2 separate regions of the Homo sapiens genome follow, and region 2 is linked to region 1. Evidence: promoter capture Hi-C in 16 types of primary human blood cells and fetal thymus (Javierre and others, 2016). All regions are on one chromosome and are shown on one strand. Each heading gives the region's core, a stretch centred on a gene start or on the middle of the fragment in contact. The rest is flanking DNA. Distances are from core to core; before and after follow the strand shown. Region 1 holds the start of GCSH (glycine cleavage system protein H). Region 2 overlaps MPHOSPH6 (M-phase phosphoprotein 6).

What was found. The method cuts DNA at HindIII sites, captures the fragments that hold promoters and counts their contacts. A CHiCAGO score of 5 or more calls a contact.
Region 2: a contact is called between a fragment that was not itself captured here and the fragment with the promoter of GCSH in region 1, in 2 of 17 cell types (fetal thymus and naive CD8 T cells). The highest score is 6.6, in fetal thymus.

The regions. Positions count from the first base shown.
Region 1 is chr16:81,092,382-81,099,387 of GRCh38, forward strand. GCSH (glycine cleavage system protein H) reads right to left here and starts at 4,014. Exons shown (of 5, transcript NM_004483.5): 1 at 3,750-4,014. The coding sequence starts at 3,897. RefSeq lists silencers at 3,431-4,100, 4,251-4,350. The HindIII fragment of the contact is 7,249 bases long and covers 1-4,869 here.
Region 2 is chr16:82,158,715-82,166,068 of GRCh38, forward strand. It overlaps MPHOSPH6 (M-phase phosphoprotein 6), which reads right to left. Exons shown (of 5, transcript NM_005792.2): 2 at 5,368-5,480. Among named protein-coding and RNA genes, the nearest start is that of MPHOSPH6, 7.8 kb to the right of the region's middle. RefSeq lists enhancers at 2,014-2,158, 4,417-4,561, 7,070-7,214, 7,207-7,351 and cis regulatory regions at 2,086, 4,489, 7,142, 7,279. The HindIII fragment of the contact is 3,410 bases long and covers 1,292-4,701 here.

The DNA.
Region 1 (7,006 bases), core at 2,764-5,263:
AGTGCTTGCCACATAGCAAGCACTCAAAAGCTGAAGGAATGAAATAATTTTTTTTTTCCTTAAATTATCATGTCGCAGGCCAGGCACAGTGACTCATGCGTGTAATCCCAGCACTTTGGGAGGCCGAGGCGGGTGGATCACCTGAGGTCCGGGGTTTGAGACCAGCCTGGCCAGCATAGTGAAACCACATCTCTACTAAAAAAATACAAAAATTAGCCAGGTGTGGTGGCACACTCCTGTAATGCCAGCGACTTGGGAAGCTGAGGCATGAGAATTGCTTGAACCCAGGAGGCAGAGGTTGCAGTGAGCTGAGATCACGCCACTGCACTCCAGCCTAAGCAACAGAGCAAGACTCAGTCTCAAAAAAAACAAACAAAAAAAATCCCTGGGCGTGGTGGCTCATGCCTGTAATCTCAACACTTTGGGAGAAAAATATATATATTTTTCCCCTTAAATTATCATGTTGCAGGCCGGGCACAGTGGCTCATGCCTGCAATCCCAGCACTTTGGGAGGCCAAGGCAGGCGGATCACCTGACGTAAGGAGGTCAAGACCAGCCTGGCCAGCATGGTGAAACCAAGTCCCTACTAAAAATACAAAAATTAGCCAGGTGTAGTGGTACACGCCTATAATCCTAGCTACTTGGGAGGCTGAGGCAGGAGAATCACTTGAACCTGGGAGGCGGAGATTCCAGTGAGCCGAGATTGCACCATTGCCTGGGCGACTAGCGAAACTTCATCTCCAAAAAAAAAAAAAAAAAGTTGCAGAATGACGTGATTTTTTAAAGTTTATTAAGAGGATTCTGAGGAAAATAGATAGTATATAGTTATTTGTCTTTAACACTTAATTCTCTCACTCTGCTACAAATCGCCGGTTATATGCCAATTATGAGCAGTTTGAAGCTAAAACACCTTTTCAAAGTAAGCACTGGACAACTATAAACACCACCTGAGACTACCTTCTTTGACCTTGCCATCTTGCCTACCTGTGAAGATAATTTTAGGAGTAAGGCTGCTGTGACCCTCATTTTAGCAACCGAGCAATTACTAATTGTAATTAGTACAATTCTCCTTAACAAGGAGCAGTTAGTGTCTCAAACATTTGGGTGTAAAGAAAATTGTTGGCCCCAAGTTTAGAGGGAGACGGCAACATTACAGGTAATGTTACCCCTCAGTCCTGGCCAACAGCAGTGGCTCTCGCCTGTAATCCCAGCACTTTGGGAGGCCGAGGCAGGCAGATCACCTGAGATCAGGAGTTCAAGACCACCCTGGCCAACATGGTGAAACCCCGTCTCTACTAAAATACAAAAAATTGGCCGGGTATGGTGGCGGGCACCTATAATCCCAGCTACCCTGGAGGCTGAGGCAGGAGAATCACTTGAACCTGGGAGGCAGAGGTTGCAGTGATTCAAAGACCTAAGTCTTTATTTTACTAAGCATGCTGTTTAGGCTAAAGGCAATGATTAGTACAATTCTCCTTTAACCCTTGGCCCGACAGGAAGAAGTGGATAGATTAGGTAAATAATTACTTTCTTTTTTTGAGACAGAGTCTCACTCTGTCGCCCAAGCTGGAGTGTAGTGGTGCAATCTAGGCTCGCTGCAACCTCTGCCTCCCGGGTTCAAGTGATTCGGCCTCATCCTCCCAAGGAGCTGGGATTACAAGCACGTGCCACCACGCCCGACTAATTTTTTGTATTTTTGGTAGAGACAGGGTTTCACCATGTTGGCCAGGCTGGTCTTGAACTCCTGACCTCAGGTGATCCGCCCGCCTCAGCCTCCCAAAGTGCTGGGATTAAAGGCATGAGCCACCGTGCCTGGACAATAATTACTTTCTAACTGGGCCTTGAAAAAGGTGGTTTTTGGCCTCGGAAAATTAGGAGTTGTGAGCAATTTATGAAAATTTTGCATTTTCCTTTTTCAATGTCACTAGTCAGATAAAATATTTTATATTAGTATTAGTCAATTTTTCTTCTCTTTTTTTTTTGAGATGGAGGTGTGCTCTTGTCGTCCAGCTACTCCACAGGCTGAGGCAGGAGAAGTGTTTGAACCCGGGAAGCGAAGGTTGCAGTGAGCCAAGATCCTGCCACTGGATGCCAGCCTGGGCGACAGAGCGAGACTCCATCTCAAAAAAGAAGAAAAAAAAAAGGAACGAAAACCACAGACTTGAAACTAAATTCTTATCTGAGAAATGCTTTACCTTTGTATTCAAATTAGTGATGTAGGGATCCCTATCAGAAACAGAGCGGACAGACTATTAGCAAGACAGCATAAGTAAATCTTTATGCTACAAATTTTGGAATAAATTTATCAACCATTCCAGCTCCAAACAGGTTTCTAAAACAATGAGCTAATGAGACAAGAGCCATCACTGATCTACGCAATCGAAGCAGAGGAGCAGTCAGTGTATCAAACATTTGGGCGTAAAGAAAATTGTTGGCCTGGCGCGGTGACGCACGACTGTAATCTCAGCACTTTGGGAGGCTGAGGCGGGTGGATCACTTGAGGTCAGGAGTTTGAGACCAGCCTAACGTGGCGAAACCCTGTCTCTACTAAAAATACAAAACTCAGCTGGAGGTGGTGACGGGCGCCAGTGAACCCAGCTACTCGGGAGGCTGAGGCAAGAGAATCGCTTGAATCTGGGAGGTGGCGCTTGCAGTGAGCCGAGATCACGCCGCTGCACTCCAGCCTGGGCGACAGAGCGAGGCTCCGTCTCAATAAAAAGAAAAAAAAAAAAAAAGAAAATTGTTTTTCCCCTGCAATAATTGTGCTGAAGTAGCACAAATGGCCGAAACATTCATGGGCAGGTTTCCCAGTTATTTCAAGTCCGTTTGAGTTAGGGCTCATTTCAGCAAGCACACACATGAATGATCCAATACAAACTTTAGCAGAACTTCTGTTGAGTCCAGAAGACTTTATCTTACTTGTTTTGGGGAAATAGCTGAATCTTCAAAGTTATGATTGTTTTATCTAGTAAAAAAATCTAGATCTGGCGCTTTAATTTTTTTTTTTTTTTTTTTTTTTGAGGTGGAGTTTTGCTCTGTCGCCCAGGCTGGAGTGCAGTGGCGCGATCTCGGCTCACTGCAACCTCTGCCTCCCAGGTTCAAGCGATTCTCCTGCCTCAGCCTCCCGAGTAGCTGGGATTACATGCGCATGCCGCCACGCCTGGCTAATTTTTTGTACTTTTAGTAGAGATGGGATTTCACCGTGTTAGCCAGGATAGTCTCGATCTCCTGACCTCGTGATCCGCCCTCCGGCATGAGCCAACGCGCCCTGCCTGGTGCTTTAATTTTAATAAGCGCTTCTGTTTTAATTTTACTTCGGAGTTCTCAGTAACGGTCCATTTAGTAAACTAAAGGCCTCCCCATTTGGGGTCTCAACGATGCACGCAGATGGGAGATAAACTTAAGGCCACCGAGACGCTTAAGCGACACGTGCCTGGCTTCTGCAGCAAGCGGCCGACCTGCCCGCCGGACCCGCCGGGCCACCCCCGCCTCGGTGTCCCGCAGGCCTCCCCTCCCGGCTGCATGCAATCCCTAGGGCAAAGGCTACTCGCGGGTCCTCCCGCTACTTAAGGGGGAGAAGCGGCCGCAGAGCCAGGGATCCCAACAGAAATAAGAAGGGGGCAGGGTCCGCGCTCGCTCCGCCCCGGTGGCTCAGGAGCGGTGCCCCGGCGTCCTCCGTGTCCCGCTGGGCCCGGGACAAGCAGCCCAGGCGGGGAGGGAGCAGCCGCCCACGTGCCCGCCGCGCTTACCCGAGAGCAGAGCGGGTCCAGTGCGCAGCGTACGGACGGCGCCCACCCCCAGCTGCCAGGGCCTCGGCGGGCAGGGCGCGGCGGGTGACGGGACCGCGCGCAGGGTGCAGAGCAGGGCCCGCACGCTCCGCACCACTCGCAGCGCCATGTTCGCAGGGGTGCGGGGGTCGCAGCGCTACGCCTCGGCCACCCGCGCCGGGAGGCGGGGCGGGGAGGGGCAGTTCGCGGCCGGAGGGAGCCGGCTGGATGGAGGCGCGGAGGCGGTGCCGCGGGGGCGGGACAGAGCCTGACTGGGCAGAGCGTGGAGGGCGGAGACTCCCAGGCGAGGGGGCGAGGCAGGGTCTGATTGGCCAGCACGCGGAGACTGGGGACTCCAGGGCCTGGCGCGACCTCGGATACGGCGACGCGAAAGAGGGGCGTGGGCATGGGGAAGAACCTGAGGCCCGGAAGAGGCAGCACCGAGAGGCGGAGACTAGCGCGGCGGGCCTGGGTATGATTGGGCTGCCCGCAGGAGGGGGGCGGGGCCTAGCCCCAGACTGGGTTCCTTTCCACATGTGTATCTCTTTTACTGCCTCTGTCATAAGTTTTCAAAGGTGGTTTCACCACCTCACGAAGGAATTCAAGAACAAGTCGGAAAGTCGTGAAAGTACAGAGGTTTACTGCAAAGTACACACTGAAGAAAGGGCGGACTCAAAAGAGGGCCACACAATGGGGCTTGGGGTTTCCATCTTTATGGGTTTCTTTGAGAAATGGAATATACACAAAGGTTTCTGGAATAAGGTGGAGACTTGTCAGAACTGTGGTGCCACCCATTTTTACACCAAATATGGGTGTTCCCGGAATTGTTGTGGTGCCGGTGGGTGTGTGACTTAGTATGTTAATGAGTCCTAGGTGAAGCCTAGGTCAAAGCCACACCACGTTGGGTCCAGTTGGTTTTAGCCAGGTTGACCCACACCCTGGTTTTTCAGGGTCTTAGCCCATAGCTTGTGCAGCTATTTCAACAGTTTCCTTTTGTTAGACAGAACTGCAGCCTGGAAGTTTCTATTCTCCTTCAACTGCTCTGTAACGTTCCTGTCTCAAAGAGCCCCAGGGACCCCAAACAGGACCGGCAGAATCCAGAAGCTTACTTAAAAAGGAATAAAGACTTGTCCAAGGGTCATAAGTGGCTTCTTGGTGGAGACTGGACCCAAGCCAGTCACTAATGCAGAAATATTCAAAACGCAGAGAGCTGAGACCCAGTGTGCACAATTCCTTGTTTCATCGGCCAGCGGTGTGACCAAGGCCTTCCGAGAAAAGCCGAAGTCATCATCCCAATCCAAGAAGTCAGAAAAAAATTAGGTTCTGGGAAAAACCTCACCTTTAACACAGATTTTATGGAGTGGCCATGAGTCAGCAAAGAAATACTGTTCTGAAAAACACCTTAAGCTACACACACACCTTTAGTACTGTTACAGAAAGGGCTCCCAATCCAGACCCCAAGAGAGGGTTTTTGGACCTCATGCAAGAAAGAATTTGGGGAGAGTCTATAAAGTGAAAGCACGTTTAATAGAGAAGTAAAGAAAAAAAAGAATGGCTTCTTCGTAGACAGAGCAGCAGTATGGCTTCTCGACTAAGTGTACTTATAGTTATTTCTTGATTGTATGCTAAACAAGGGGTGGATCATTCAAGAGTTCTCCAGAAAAGGGGCAGGGATTTCCTAGAACTAACGGTTCCTCCGCTTTTTGGACTATAGGGTAACTTCTCTGGACGTTGCCATTGCATTTGTGAACTGTCATGACGCTGGTGGGAGTTGTTTTTTTTTTAACATGCTAATGCATTATAATTAGCGTATAATGAGCAGTGAGACCTACCAGAGGTCGCCATCTTGGTTTTGGTGAGTTTTGGCCAGCTCCTTTACCGCATCCTATTTTATCAGCAGGGACTTTGTGACCTGTATCTTGTGCCAACCCTAGCTCATCCTGTGACTAAGTGAGGCAGGTGAATCACTTGAGGTCAGGAGTTCGAGACCAACCTGGCCAACATGGAGAAACCCCCGTCTCTACTACAAATCCAAAGTTTAGCCAGGCATGGTGGCAGGTGCCTGTAATCCCAGCTACTCAGGAGGCTGAGGCACGAGAATCACTTGAGCCTGGGAGGCAGAGGTTGCAGTGAGTCGAGATCACGCCACTGCACTCCAGCCTGGGTGACAGAGCGAGACTCTGCTTCAGAAAAAAATACAAATAAAAAGAATGCCTAACCTCCTGGGAATGCAGCCCACCAAGTCTCAGCCTCATTTTACCCAGCCCATATTCAAAATGGAGTTGTTCTTGTTCAAACACCGGAAACAGTACCATAGGGTGCACACCATGGAGTGTGTGTGTGTTTGGGGAGCCCATACGTTGTTGCACTGAGCTTCTGCCCTGCTATGAACTTAGGGTTGCCACCACATCTGTGCAGTGGCTTGCAAGGGCCGTCATGCCCACTTTCTTTTGAGCAAATCATTCCCATCTATTGAGCCTTTGCTATGTGCCTGGCACTATGCACACATCTTTTTAATCCTCTCCAAACCTCTTTCTGGCAGGTGTTACACTCATTTCATAGATGAGGCTCAGAGGTGAAGGCACTTCCGAGGAGTGGGATCGGGGAGGCGTTTTTGTGGCTTAAGTAGCTCCTAGGTGGCAGTAGTAGACCTTGGCCTCTACACTGATTAGAAAGCAACTCTTCTTTTTTTCTTTTTTTTTTTCGAGACGAAGTCTAGCTCTGTCGCCCAAGCTGGAGCGCAGTGGCGTGATCTTGGCTCACTGCAACCTCTGCCTCCCGGGTTCAAGCAATTCTCCTGCTTCAGCCTCCCGAGTGGCTGGGACTACAGGACCACGTGCCACCACGCCCGTCTAATTTTTGTATGTTTAGTAGAGATGGGGTTTCACTATGTTGGCCAAGCTGGTCTCGAACTCCTGACCTTGTAATCCACCCACCTCGGCCTTCCAAAGTGCTGGGATTACAGGCATGAACCACCGTGCCTGGCCAGCAATTGCTCTTAAGCTCTGCTCCGCTTGCTTTCGTTTGGGATGCTGACTGGATCACGCTGGTCTACCCTGCACTACAGATCTTGGCTACCTTCTCTAATGTCAAGATGTTGTTTTCTATTGTTGTTTCATTACAAGACAGTGCAGCATCGTGCCACTTACACCCTAACATATTTATTCTCAGCTTCACTAACTCATGTGATGGGAAGAAAAAGATCACACATCAACATCAACATATGGGCTACAAAAAGG
Region 2 (7,354 bases), core at 1,747-4,246, 1.1 Mb after region 1:
ATAACAAAATTCAAGCTTTCAAGCAAAAGTTAGAATTCCGAATAGCTTTTATCTGTCATCTTGGGCTTGATAGCTTCCCAACACTTAAAAGACTTTTCTGTTGAAACCCACGGTGATACTAATGAATGTGATTTTTGATATTGTATAACAAGATGAGTTAACACTGGGAAAATCTATACAACTCATTTTCCAAATGACAGATGCAGGATGTTAAGAAATCATATACAGGTAAAAGATCTATTTGGAATACAAGACAGACCAAGACATGAAAAATTCACTGGTGTTTTCAGATTCCACGTTGCAATTTACTCTGAAGAAACTACTACTGACTGAGTTTTGGAGTTGTACCAAAGAATTATCTGAAAAGGCCATTGAGATACTCCTCTCTTTTCAACTGTATCACCTGTGTGAGGGGGATTTTCTTTATATACTTCAACCAATACAACATGCTTTAACAGGCTGACTGCAGGCGTTCAGAGTCTAGCTGTCTTCTATTATGCCACAATGTTAAAGAGATTTGCAAAAACAGAAAACAGTGCCACTCTTCTCGTTAAATTTTTTGTCTTGAAAAAGTTATTTGTCATTAAAAATGTGTTAGGTAATGAATTTGTTATTTAAATAATTTTTAAAATTTCTTACATAGTAAATATTAACAAATATAAATCACACAAAACACTCTTTAGGTGTTCTAAATAAATTTTTTTTTTTGAGATGGAGTCTCATTCTGTTGCCCAGGCTGGAGTGCAGTAGCGCAATCTCGGCTCAATGCAACCTCCGCCTCCTGGATTCCAGTGATTCTCCTGCCTCAGCCTCCTGAGAAGCTGGGACTACAGGCACACGCCATCATGCCTGGCTAATTTTTTTTGTATTTTTAGTAGAGACGGGGTTTCACCATGTTAACCATGATGGTCTCGATCTCCTGACGTCGTGATCCGCCTGCCTCGGCCTCCCAAAGTGCTGGGATTACAGGTGTGAGCCACCGTGCCCGGCCTAGGAGTTCTAAATAATTTTTATAAATGCAAATAGCTTCTGAGTTCCAAAACTCTGAGAACCACTGTGATTTTGGTTCCTCTCTCACTGGCCCTCTAGTCTGGCTAGAAACTCACTTACTTCAGAACCGCCTCTCCCTGAGGGAATCTAAATTTGGGCACAGAACTTGCTGTTCAGCTTTTTCTATGAACTTGGGATTCCCTCTCAATTGCCCAATCTTATTCCTTATAGAGGGAGCAGCTGATGAGACCTCCTCAATTCCAAAGTAAATCATCTCTCTCAGGAAAGCACCATACATCAAAGCTTTCACTTAAGGCAAAGGAGGGACCCAGAGAAAGACAACCTCCAGAGGTCAGGACTGGATTCAGAGCAGGACTACTGGCCCCTCAGAGGTTTTTCCCACGGGTTTGCATTGACACCGTATCTTTAATATAAAAAGGAGCACAGGTGTTTTGTATCTACATGCATGGTTTTAAGAATTAGAAAAATTAATTACAGAGTTGGCAAGCAAGTGAAATATTTCAAAACTTACCTCTTTTTGTATTTTAATTATCCAATTTTCATTAATGAGGATAATTTTCAGGCTAAAACACACCCACAAAATTATTTCATAAATTTCGCAGATGAGAAACTACTGCTCAGAAAAAGCTGGACTTGCCTAAAGCCACAAATACCATGGCAAAACTCCAGTTAGAAAACCCTTCTCAGTGGGTCTCACATTCCTGCACATTTTTTGAGTGAGGCACTAACTGCCCGGTTGCTCTGGACTATCTTTGCAAGGATATCTGCATAGCGAGCAGCCTTGAAAAACAGTCTTCCTCTAAAGCGAAGGGCAGATTTGCTTACTGTCCAGCATAATACAGATGCCTCTCTTGGGGCCGAAGGCAAGTCTGCTTGTGGTCCGTTATCCAAGGTTCCAGTTTTCTAAGCTCAGGAGATCTCAGCTATGATGCAAATCCACTGGGTGCACAGCATCCACCTGGGCCACTTCACGCCATCCCTCATAGGAGTTGGGGACAAAAGAGAAATGACGCAAACTTGATGCTTGTGCTGCTTGCTGTACAGTAAGTCCTTTGTTTCTGATGGTGTTCAGGAGACACTACTCCCAAAATATGGCATCTTGGCATACTGAAAATTTTACACTGGAGGAATCTGAAAAATGACGTGCAGGTAGGATTTTCTGACTGTCCCCTGAAGCAGGTCATAAAAGCATCTCACATAAGAGGTGCCCTCCCTACACTCAGAGGAAAGCAACATCCTTATCTCAGAAGAAGGGACAGAGAGAGGAATCTGAACAAAAGACTTGCTAAGTTTCTCCTGGCTTATTACTCTTCGTTCATACCCCTTGCTCCCATCATATTTCTTCACAACTTTCCACTCTTCATCAAAGCTAACATAAAAACACTCAGGTTCAACCAGTTCTTCGGTATTCATTTTCTTATGAAGGCTCCTGTGTCACCTAAAACTTTTGTGAAATAAAAGTGTATACCTTTCTCTTTGTTAATCTGTCTTTTGTTACAGGGACCCCAACTAATGAACTTCAAATGGGTGGAAGGAAAGGCTATTGTCCCTCCCCTACATCTCAGACCCAGAAGGTTCCTATCTTCCACCAGCATCAGTGAAAGTGTGGCAGGCTAACTTGTTAGTTTCAGGTCCCTATAGCTTCTGACTCCAAACAGACCACAAAACACAAGTATAAGATGTACAATAGCCAAAAATACTTCTTAAACAACTTGCTACGGCAAAGGAGGAATTAAACTGCCTATACTTGCACACTCTTTCTGGACCATATCCTTGGGGAAAAAAACAATAAGGCAATAGATAGCAAAATCTTTCATCTGGTAAATTTCACTCCTAGGAATTCACACTATATCGGGTTCCCTGGAAACAGACTCTGAGACAGACATATATGCAGAAAACTTAGCAGGCAGTGTTGTTCAGCAGATGCCCTTCTAGGAAAACAGAGAAAGAAGGATTGGGCAGAGGGAGAAGATAATGGGCAATGTGGCTACACTAAGGCCTCAGCCACATATGAGAGCTCTGGAGTCAGGAATGCCCTTCAGTTGTTCCAAGTTGAGGCACAGCAGCTAGATCATCATTCCCCTACATGGTCTAGCCACTGGCTAAAAGTGTCCCCTGTGAGGCAGTGTTAACACTGAATAGCCCTAATTATCTTCACTGAATTACAGACTGATACGGCTGACATTAAAAATGGGAAAGTCGAGACTTTCAGAGCACAGACACATGCAATCTCCAAATTCACAGAATAGTTAAGACAACACTAGCAAAAAAGGATACACAAACATAAGTGAGTAGAAAGGAATGGGTGTACTTCATATATTCAGATATAAGGAAATACACACAATGGTGACAATCACTGTGCTTTATGCCTGGTGTTATGGTGACTGTTTTACATATATTACCTCATCTACTTCTCGGAATGTACTGGACAGGTACTATCATCATACCCAATACACAAATGACACAAAACAGGTTAAGTAACTCACCCAAGGTGACAAGTAAACAACTGGCGGAGCTGGGCATCAAACCCAGGTCTGCCTGACTTCAGAGCCCATGTGCTTAATCAACCAATCCATTCCATGATCTCCCTATTTAGAGTGTTAAAAACAACAACTCAATACAACACGTATACCAAGGACATGTCATCCATTCACCCCTCCAGACCTACTTCCCGTCTTCACCTGTTTCTCTGGCCTGGGAGGCTGACTTGAACGTAATGCACGGAAGGGCTCCTTTGCTGCCAGGTACCTGGCTCCCTTGCTAGGATGACCTTGGGCTGGCCGTACCCGTGAATGGAGGTAGCAGCTCCTGTAAGGTGCTCTCTCTACACAACTTATCTGCAGATTCGGTAGCAGCTATTCCCCACCCACCCGTTGACTCTGCAAGCTCAGGTGGTAATCACTCCCACTACACATGCTAGGAGGTGCTGCACTGCCCCGAGGGGCCCCCCTATGCCCCACCCACACCTTGATAGTCTCTCCTCAGTCTGAGAGTGTCATCTTCTCCTGCCAACATCCTGAGCTGATATACACACCTATACATAAACAGGATGCTGAGTAATGGCAAAAAGGCATTATTTACCTTCCCAGAAAGAAATGTAAAGGTCATTTTCTGGGAATAATATGCTGTATTAGGGGAAAAATACTGGAAACAAGATAGAAACAGTCCTGCTCTTTAATAAACAACTGGAAGGAACACTTTGGCAAGTTTACTTAAGGCATAAAAGTAAATTATAGCTCCAGCAGCAAAGGTCCCTTCCTCCCTGTGACCCTGCCCCTGGCACTATCTTCTCCCTCCTCACCAACATCTTGCTTCCTCTGAGAAGCAGAGAAAAAAAGTACCTTCTCCCGATCCCTCCTGGTGGGACATACTTTCTATCTTTAGAGAAGGGTATCTAACCTTCAAACAATGTCCAGAGGTCAGCCAAATGAACAGGGGAATATAACATTCCAAATCAAAGCCCAAACATCAGGTACAGAATGGAAACACATAAATGTGCCTCAAGACAGTAAGCAGCATCTTCAGTCATTTGACCAAAGTTTAAGTAAAACTACCATACAACAGAGCTTACTAAGGTGAGGAAAGTATCAGGGAAAAATGAAAAATAGCTTCCAGAAGGATTCAGCTAAATTAATGGATGAAATAAATCCAACACTCCTTCATTCAAAATTGTTGATCAGGCACCAGCCAAGCTTAGGGGTGGGCCAGAAACTGTCTACCCCAGCCTTCAGCACTGACTAGCTGGGTGAAGCTGGGCAAGTTACCCTCCCTTAAGCTCAGTTCCTCAACTACAAAGTGACAGAATCATAGGAGGCAGTTCCTAAGTTTGCTACGAAGATTCAATAACTACAGATGTAAAGTGTTTAGCCCAGTTCCTGGTACACACTATAGATTCAGTAAATGTTAGCTAAAATGGATGGTATTACAAGTAGTAACAATTTAAAAGAAGAAACAAAAACTTCTGACCTGCCTTAAAATGCTCAACCTAATGAACTCTGTAACCGAAACAAAACTGGAGAGACCTGAAGTACACCCCTAATCTTTAGAACTTAAGGTGATAGAGAGAACATTACAGCTTCCCCAAAGGTCTGCTGTTACTATCAGAGATATGTGGGCTAGGTTCCTTCATTCAATGTAAAAAAGGACAAAATAGTGGCTGGGAGGGGGAGTAGTAAAAATGTATAAATCCATGTACAACTTCTATAGGTTTAATATTTTTTAGTTGTGCTACTAAATCAATAAACTGAACAGAAACAATTTCATGGGCTTTATGTCACCGGAATGATGAGTTAAATTTACCAGGAGTTTCCTTCTGAATGCCACAAGCATCATCAGTATCAATTTTAATAAACCTACTCTTTCTCTTTAAGCTCTGGCAAATCCAAGTACCAGTGCTCTTCACTAATGATTTTCTTTTCTTCTTCTTCTAGTTGTTTCTTGGTTTCTGAGTCCAGTCCCCTTTGCATAAACTGTGAAAACAAACAAAATCAATGTCAGAAACTTTTCCCATTTTAGAACTGAGGAAACCCCAAATAATTTTCTTCTTCTACTTGTTCTCCTTCATTTATCTATGGAACCCATCTCAAGATTGAGGGTTGGGGCAAGTGATCAAACGGTTTAGCTCTACCCTTCCAACTTTACACTAGACGATGAGGGCTTGTGTCAGGGCATGAGAAAATGCACAATGTATATTTCCTTCGGAAAACTTAAGGGCTAAGACACCACATTCGAAGGTCTTGTGCTCACCCACAGAGCCCACTGGCTTTGGCACCTGCTGATCTGGGGTTGAAATGCCCTTCTTATCCTCTTCCACCTGGCCAACTCCTCGCCCGTCTGACATAGGTAAAGCTACTAGACTTCTATGAGTGCCAGTAAAATCAGTGCCTCTGTCCTAAATGCTTCCATGGCTCCCTCCAATAGACTCACCACATCTGAACTTTCTGAGCATCTATCTTTTCTGGAGACCTTAAGGACTGGGTGTCTGGGTCATCTCCTTCATCTGTCCCAATATGATGACTGAAGCACAGTAAGAGCCCGATAAATGTAGGCAGAAGCAAAGGTACATCTATAAGTCTGCTCTTCGTTTTTATTTTTCCTCTGAAATGCTGCTAAACTCTTGAGCTGCTCTTATCAAATCTGCAGAAAGTTGACTCAAAATATGGCAGTAAATAACAGTCCTGCTGCCAGTCTCTCACTAGCATGAATACCTGTATTTCTTCAGGGAACAAGTGAACAAACTTAAGAGGCTAACCACAGCAACAAGATAAAATATCAACACTGGAGAAAATAAAATCAGAAAATACCCAGAAGCCTCCTAGCAGTTAGGTTTCAGCTTCCACTGGTTTCTATGTATCCCCCATTTCTTTCCCTTATTCAGGTCCGATATTTCTTTTTTATTTTTTTTTTTATTTTTTTTTTTTGAGACAGAGTCTCACTCTGTCGCCCAGGCTGGAGTGTAGTGGCACGATCTCAGCTCACTGCAACCTCTGCCTCCTAGGTTCAAGAGGTTCTCCTGCCTCAGCTTCTCGAGTAGCTGAGATTACGCGCCTGCCACCACACCCAGCTAATTTTTCTGTTTTTAGTAGAGACGGGGGTTCACCACTTTGGCCAGGCTGGTCTCAAACTCCTGACTTTGTGATCCACCCGCCTCGGCCTCCCAAAGTGCTGGGATTACAGGTGTGAGCCGCTGCGCCCGGCCCAGGTCCCATATTTCTCCTCCTTCTATTCCACCTTTTCCAAACATAAGCCTTTTTAGGCATAAGCACTTTAACAATGACTACTAAGTTAAATGAAAAAACCTTAACGTTCACGAATAAAATAGTCATGCACTGCAAAATGATGTTTGGTCGACGATGGAACCCATATATGACAGTGGTCCCATAAGATTACAATGCTGCATTTTTATTGTACCTTTTCTATATCTAGATATGTTTAGATACACAGACACCACTGTGTTACAACTGCCTACAGTATTCAGTACAGTAGCATGCTGTATAGGTTTGCAGCCTACGAACAACAGGCTGTACCATATAGCCTAAGTGTGTGGTAGGCTATACCATCCAGGTTTGCGTAGATGAACCCTATGATGCTCTCACAATGATGAAATCACCTAACAATGCATGTTTCAGAACGTATCCCTGTTGTTAAATCATGTGTTAAGTAACACATGATGGTGATAACATCAAGTGCTGAAGAGAATGTGAAGAAACTGATCACTCAAACATAGCTGGTGGGAAAGTAAATGGTACAGCCACTGTGGAAAACAGCATGGCAGTTTCTTAGCAAACTAAACATACACTTACCATATGACCCAGCAACCGTCCACGCAAAATGAGTGCGTGTA